2 separate regions of the Homo sapiens genome follow, and region 1 is linked to region 2. The links are contacts of gene promoters, found by promoter capture Hi-C in blood cells and fetal thymus (Javierre and others, 2016). All regions are on one chromosome and are shown on one strand. The core of a region is centred on a gene start or on the middle of the fragment in contact, and the rest is flanking DNA. Distances in the headings are between cores, read along the strand shown. Region 1 overlaps SV2C (synaptic vesicle glycoprotein 2C). Region 2 holds the start of ANKRD31 (ankyrin repeat domain 31).

What was found. Contacts are between HindIII fragments. The CHiCAGO score rates a contact against its expected background, and 5 or more counts as called.
Region 1: a contact is called between a fragment that was not itself captured here and the fragment with the promoter of ANKRD31 in region 2, in 4 of 17 cell types (total B cells, endothelial precursors, naive B cells and 1 more). The highest score is 8.9, in total B cells.

The regions. Positions count from the first base shown.
Region 1 is chr5:76,253,868-76,257,080 of GRCh38, forward strand. All of the region lies in intron 4 of SV2C (synaptic vesicle glycoprotein 2C), which reads left to right. Among named protein-coding and RNA genes, the nearest start is that of SV2C-AS2, 56 kb to the right of the region's middle. The HindIII fragment of the contact is 1,926 bases long and covers 784-2,709 here.
Region 2 is chr5:75,235,184-75,238,132 of GRCh38, forward strand. It overlaps ANKRD31 (ankyrin repeat domain 31), which reads right to left and starts at 1,695. Exons shown (of 26, transcript NM_001372053.1): 1 at 1,400-1,695. The coding sequence starts at 1,503. LOC124901006 (a long non-coding RNA gene) reads left to right here and starts at 1,855. Exons shown (of 2, transcript XR_007058823.1): 1 at 1,855-2,183. RefSeq lists an enhancer at 1,416-1,585 and a silencer at 1,636-1,935. The HindIII fragment of the contact is 5,895 bases long and covers 1-2,949 here.

The sequences.
Region 1 (3,213 bases), core at 497-2,996, 1.0 Mb after region 2:
AGAAAAACTAGTTCAATTTTCTCCCTATCATAAGTTTTTAAAGATTCTGCTGCAGACTATTCTCACTGAGTTTCAAAAACTTGAACTGCTTCCCTCATTAGACTTGGCAGAAGGTAGAAATGTAATGCATTGTCTGGGTGCAGGAGCTCACACCTGTAATCCAAGCACTTTCAGAGGCCAAGGCAGGAGCATTGCTTGAGGCCAGGAGTTTGAGACCAGCCTGGGCAACATAGGGAGAAACCACCTCCCTGTCTCTATTATTAAATATATGTGTTATTATATATATATATATATGTGTGTGTGTGTATATATATGTGTGTGTGTATATATATATGTGTGTATATATATGTGTGTGTATATATATGTGTGTGTGTATATATATATATATATAGAGAGAGAGAGAGAGATATTAAAAATTTAAAAATAAATGTAATGCATCTACACATCCAGCCAGCCAATGTGGCATAATAACAGCATTATTTGCATCCCTACTTTTCCATCTATTCCTTGAGAGTGTCGGTGGAAGTGGTTCTGAGAGCCCCAGCTGGAGTGAGACAGAAGGCAAACATTACTCAAACCTCCATGTTTAGCTTTACAATGGTGTCACTCACTTGATCTCACTCTTTTAGCCCTTATGAACTGCCTATTTTCCATGGAAATTTCCAGGCATGGAAGGTAACATCTGACATAGATATGCCCAAACATTCAATGTGAAATAAATACACAGACTGCCTCTGATGTGTTCTGAACCATAATTCAGATTTCAAAAATCTTAATGAATGAAGCTTCTACTTTCCCCAAGACTGTCACTAAATCTTCTCATGGCTTAATTAAATACTAATAATTGTACTAAATCCAAAATGTTAATTATGTTTATCTCTGAGTGATGAAACTTGGAGTTATTTACTTCTTTTATTTTCTGTATTGCTTGCCACATAGACATGTATTATTATTGTAACCAAGAAACAATCACATTGCTATCTGAGGGTAGAAGAAAATGATCAAAAGCATCTGAGACAGGCATATTGGCTGGGGTCCACCCCTTTTCCTGGTACAAATGAGACTCTAAGTGTTGATTTATATTTATTTTTTATAAATCCTCTCTCCACCCCACCCCCAAATGGATTTTACTTTGTCTACATTTTTTAATACTCACTGTCAGGAAATACTCTGTTAACCTAAGATTTTGAGCTTTTCCCTATTATTCTGTCCTATGGAAAGAAGAACAGTTATTCATATAATATTAATGATCACTCTTAATATCATTAAAAAGCTCTGTGGATCTCTCCAGTAATTTCTAATACATCAAGGTAGCCAAAGATTGTTTTGCAGATAAATTTATTTTCCTGCCAGGGATTTTTAAAACCATAAAGCATTATCAAAATCATAAAGTATATGTTTCTAGCTCACTCTTTTGAATCTGTCTGTTTTCCCAGACTGGAATTCACAAACGCATTCTGGTTATAATGATAGCACGTGGTTTGGAGACAGGATCAGCCGGTCTGGAGACCATCTTCCCATGTCACCCAAGCCTCCCATGCAGGGACCCTGTCTTCCTCCACCCCAGAATGTCCATGGTTGTCCCTTTCCTTTGTCCCTGGTTCTAGAGTCCTTTTCTCACTAGTCCTTCAGGAATGTATCACATTTCCTTCTTAACTGTGGCCCTAGAGTGGTCCTTTGGCCCCACTGTCCTAGCTTGGATCTCTGTCTGTCTAGCCAGGCATCCCTTTGCTCTATTAGATTTTCCCTACCAAATCCCAGTCCGTGGGTTGCCATCAAGTAACCCTTACATGTCAGCACCGTGCCTGTGAAAGCCAAGCCCCTCACCTGGTGAAATCGTTATCAGAGTGGTCACGCCTGGCCACCTTATGCGCCCCCCTCACCCCTCAGGTTCTGCTGAGCCACTGGGCCACTGGAGGAGGGACTGCCTCACCTGAGACTCTCATCTCCGCAGCCACCTCCCACCAAATGCCCAGTTCTTCCTGCCTCTTCCTTCAACTTGGCTCCCATCTCAGCCCTTCTGGGGGAAGAGGGCTCAGATTCTTACAATCTCCATAGAAAGGAAATACAGTGTCAGGCCAGTTTGCCTGATGCCTTTTTAAAAATCAATAAAGGGGACAGAATGCAAAATATGTGCTAGGTTGTTTTTATGAAATGCAAGGCAAAAAATGCCCCATTAAACATTTCTTCTCTGCAGCCCTTGCTCTCAAGGGCACATGCTTGACCCTTGGGTTCTTAAGACTTTCACCAAGGCCACTTTGTGCTTTGCCTGCTCTGCCTGAGTCTCTGGCCCTCAGAGCTAGAGGGTGGGGCTGGCCTTCCAGTCTGTATCTGTCCCCTGGGGGAGTACCTTTCCAGGCTGAATTTAAGAATGCAGCAATTGACTTAGAATGCAGACTCATTGAGTGAATGCGAGCCCTGGAGGAAAGAAAAATCACTGTCACTTCTGTGGCCCCCAGGTTTGACACTTTCAGGGCAACCCCAGAGTCTGAATTGCTTGGAACATCCACTCACGCATGCAAGTGAAAGTCATCAGGGAAGAGGCTTTTAATAGCGCAGCGTCTGTGTGTCTCTTGTGAACCCAGGGTGCCCTCAAGTGTTGGCTAGGGTTAATCACAAGCCGCTGTTTCTGAGAACACCCTAGAATGAAGCAACCCTTAAACGTTTTAGCTTTGTGACTTGTGTCCATCACTCTTAATTTTCTGCAGAAGCTTTTTCCTGCCTTTGTTACTTCTGTAAATTCAGTCTATCAGAGGGCTTATGTGGTACTTTTAAAAACTCACTTTGATTTGCCTTTGTGCAAATTGAGCTCTGAAAGAGAGCAGTTTCCAGGGAAATTCATCTCCCAGCAAGAATCCTGCCTGCTACCAAATCATCTTTTAATCTGCCCCCCGCTTTAAAATGTCATTATATTTTCCTTATACAGACCTTCATAAAACTTACAAACACTGTCTAGTTTACATCTTCATTTTGCTCTCACAAGGCCAAAAAACTTGTTAAACAGACTTAATGAACGAGTTCCTCTTGATCGGGGTTGTAAGTTTCTAAAATTGCATTTGAACTTCTACCTGCCTCTAGCTGAATGAAAATTGCCTCCAGACATCTGAAGTCTTTTTCTTCCTTTCATTTTGCTTAATCTACCTCTGTATCAAAGCACATTTCCATTTTGTTTAGGCCAGTTGTCAGACTCTAGGCATTTGCAGATTTTAGAAA
Region 2 (2,949 bases), core at 445-2,944:
TTTTACGATATAAACTTTGGAATCAGTTGTCTAGTTCAACAGAAAGTCTTGCTGGTACTTTTTTTTTTTTTTTTTTTTTTGAGATAGAGTCTCACTCTGTCGCCCAGGCTGGAGTGCAGTGGAGTCATTTTGGCTCATAGCAACCTCTGCCTGTTTCTCATTACAACCAAAAACTCCGAATGAATATTTTTTAAAAACTACTCGAGAACCTTGAAAAGTAAACAATAGCAGGTAGATTGGGGACTGAAGTTGAAATCTTAATAACAACCCATTTATTGACGAGTTTCAGTTTGTTTTCGGTTTTTTGGTTCTTTTTTGTCTTTCAGCTTTGAACCATCCAGTGGGCACAGACAGTAAACCTATTTTTATCCAGAAGACCAAGGAAAATGACCCCTGCATGCCAGAAGGTATAGGACAAAGCCCAGGGCTTTATGTTGCTTTCTCTCTCACCTCCCAGCCCTGCCCCAAGGCTGGCCCTAGCCTCAGAGCAGACACCAACCATGGCAACTGGGGAACATAAAACTCAAGAGAAAGTGTCTACCAGAGGAACTGGGAAAAGGGATCGGTATTGCCTGAAAAGTGTGGACAGAATCCCCCTTTTTTCTCTCTTTTCTTAACTCTGTGCTAAAGGCTGTCCCCCTTGTAAGGAACTGCTGTATAGTGAAAAGGCTAACACTCAAAGAAACCTGTCTTTCTGATCATATGAACTGGCAAGTGGGTATGATGAGGAAAGGGGGCAGGAGAATCCTGGAGAAGAGAGAGAGGGAAAGGAGAATGACCTAATTCTGTGTACGATCCAACTTAAGTCCCAGACACAGCCCTGAGCACATATGAAGCAGACCTAGTGGCCTCATCCCTGCCCTCTTTTCCCTGTGTCTAGCACAGAGAATATGTTAGAGAAAGGTTTCGATAACCTGAAATACCGACTTTTTTGGATTCGTATAAAACTATTCGTTTCCAGTTTGGCAGGGACCAGTTTCCCCATCACACATTCTTTTCTTGAGAGAAACTGTTACCCATTTTCCTAGAACTGAGCTACGAGTCTCTTGAAGCAAAATGAAGTCTCCTGAAACAAAATGCAGTTAAGTTCAGACCCAAGATCTTTTTTGCTTGTGCAAAAAGACTTAAAGCCCCCAAAAGGAAAGCCTTTTGAAAAATGCTATAAAGCCACCTAGTACAAACCTCATTTTATCCCTAGCTGGTTGGGGGTAGGTGGGAACAGACTGTGTTTGCTTATTTACAAGCTCTCAGCTCAGGCACGGCTGCCCCACAAGGCTCTGATCCTGCCCACAAGCACATGTTCTGGTCACGATCTCCACTCAAAACTCTGACCCCCTCAGAGGGCACCTGGGCCGCCCTGGCGCGAGGGTTCAGGCACTGTGGCCCTAATGATGGTCACCTTCTCCAGGGCAGCTCCTTTTCTTCCAGGTCGCTCTCCGTCACTGAACCCTCTATCACAGTTTCATCACTGTCCCAGTCTGGGGCCTGGACGCCTTCCTCCATCTTTGCCTCACATTCAAAGTCTTTTTTACCCTCCTCTAACTCCCTCTTGCCCGCAAACAAAAAAACGCTTTGAGGGCCAGGGGAAATTGTGAATTAAAAATAAAAATAATATAATCGCAGCAGGAGCCGGGACTTGTCGCAGGGCTGCTGAGGAGGACGCAGGCGGCCGCGAGCGCGGCGGGGTAGCAGTCTGCGAGGCGGCCCGCGGGTCCCGCCGCTCGTCGCAGACAGGGGGCAGCCGCTCGCCACACGACGGAGCCCTGCGCAGCGCTCGGCCCCGCCCCCAGCTCCCGTGGCCGGAAGTGGGAGGCCGCGCGCGCGCGCGCAGGCCTACTCTGGGCGTGGCCTGCCGCTGCGTGTTTTTTTCACGGTTTCTCATTCTCGGTCGCTAGGCTTTGAGGGTGCTGGGGTTGCTGCTGCAGAGACCAGAAAGGCAGGCGTGGCGCACCCAGAACTCAGACCGAGCCTGCTTAACACCCTTGGCCGGGAGGGTGACCTGCCATGCACCTGATGCTTGTGAGCCCCAGATACGGGAAGAGCTGTCAGCTCCTGCCCGCCCCAGCAGCCCTGGCATTCTGGAGCCAGAATGCGACCTTAGACCTAAAGAGAGTTTTTGCAGCCCACCAAGTGCTTCCTTTCCCTTTAATCCCTTGACAGCCTCTCCTCAAGTGTCCTCTGAGGTAGACAAAACAGATACGTTTATCAGAAGTTTTAGCTCATCAACTAATCTCAGTGATGTATTTTGCATTTTTTTTTTCTCTCAACAACGCTTTGGTTACCTGAAATACAGATTATGCAGGAAAGGCAGGATAAATGCTTTATTTTTTCCTCTTTTATCAATTTTTATAATAATAGTAATGCCTAGCAACCTCCAAAAGTAGTCAATTGCGTTTTAATGAAGTACTAGAATTTTATATATTTGATGTGTTTCAGTCTAGTTGAACATTTTTAATTCAAACTAATTCAAAACAAAGCCAAGTGAGCTTCCACTTGCCAAGTGAGAAGAAGATTCAAGAAAAGACCAAGTTGTTTTCCCATAGCAAGTGTTTAGTATTCACCTTGGAGTCTCCAGCATCTAGCACATATAAAGTCTAAGTTTTGTCATAAATGGATGGAGCTAGAGATTTCTGACTTCCCAATTCATTGCCCTTTTCACTATATGGAGTAGCTTTGCCATTATTATCATTATTATTATTTTGTGTTTTTACTATGTATATTCAAGCCACTGCTATTTAAAATGCTTGATTGGTGATTATCTTCTAAACTTAACTTGAGGCTGGGGGTGGTGGCTCTACCTGTAACCTCAATGCATTGGAGGCCGAGGCAGGAGGATTGCTTGAGACCAGAAGTTCAAGACCAGCCTGGGCAACATGGTGAGACCCCTATCTCTGCAAAAAATTTGTTTTTAATTAGCAGGGCATGGTAGCATGGGCCTGTAGTCCCAGC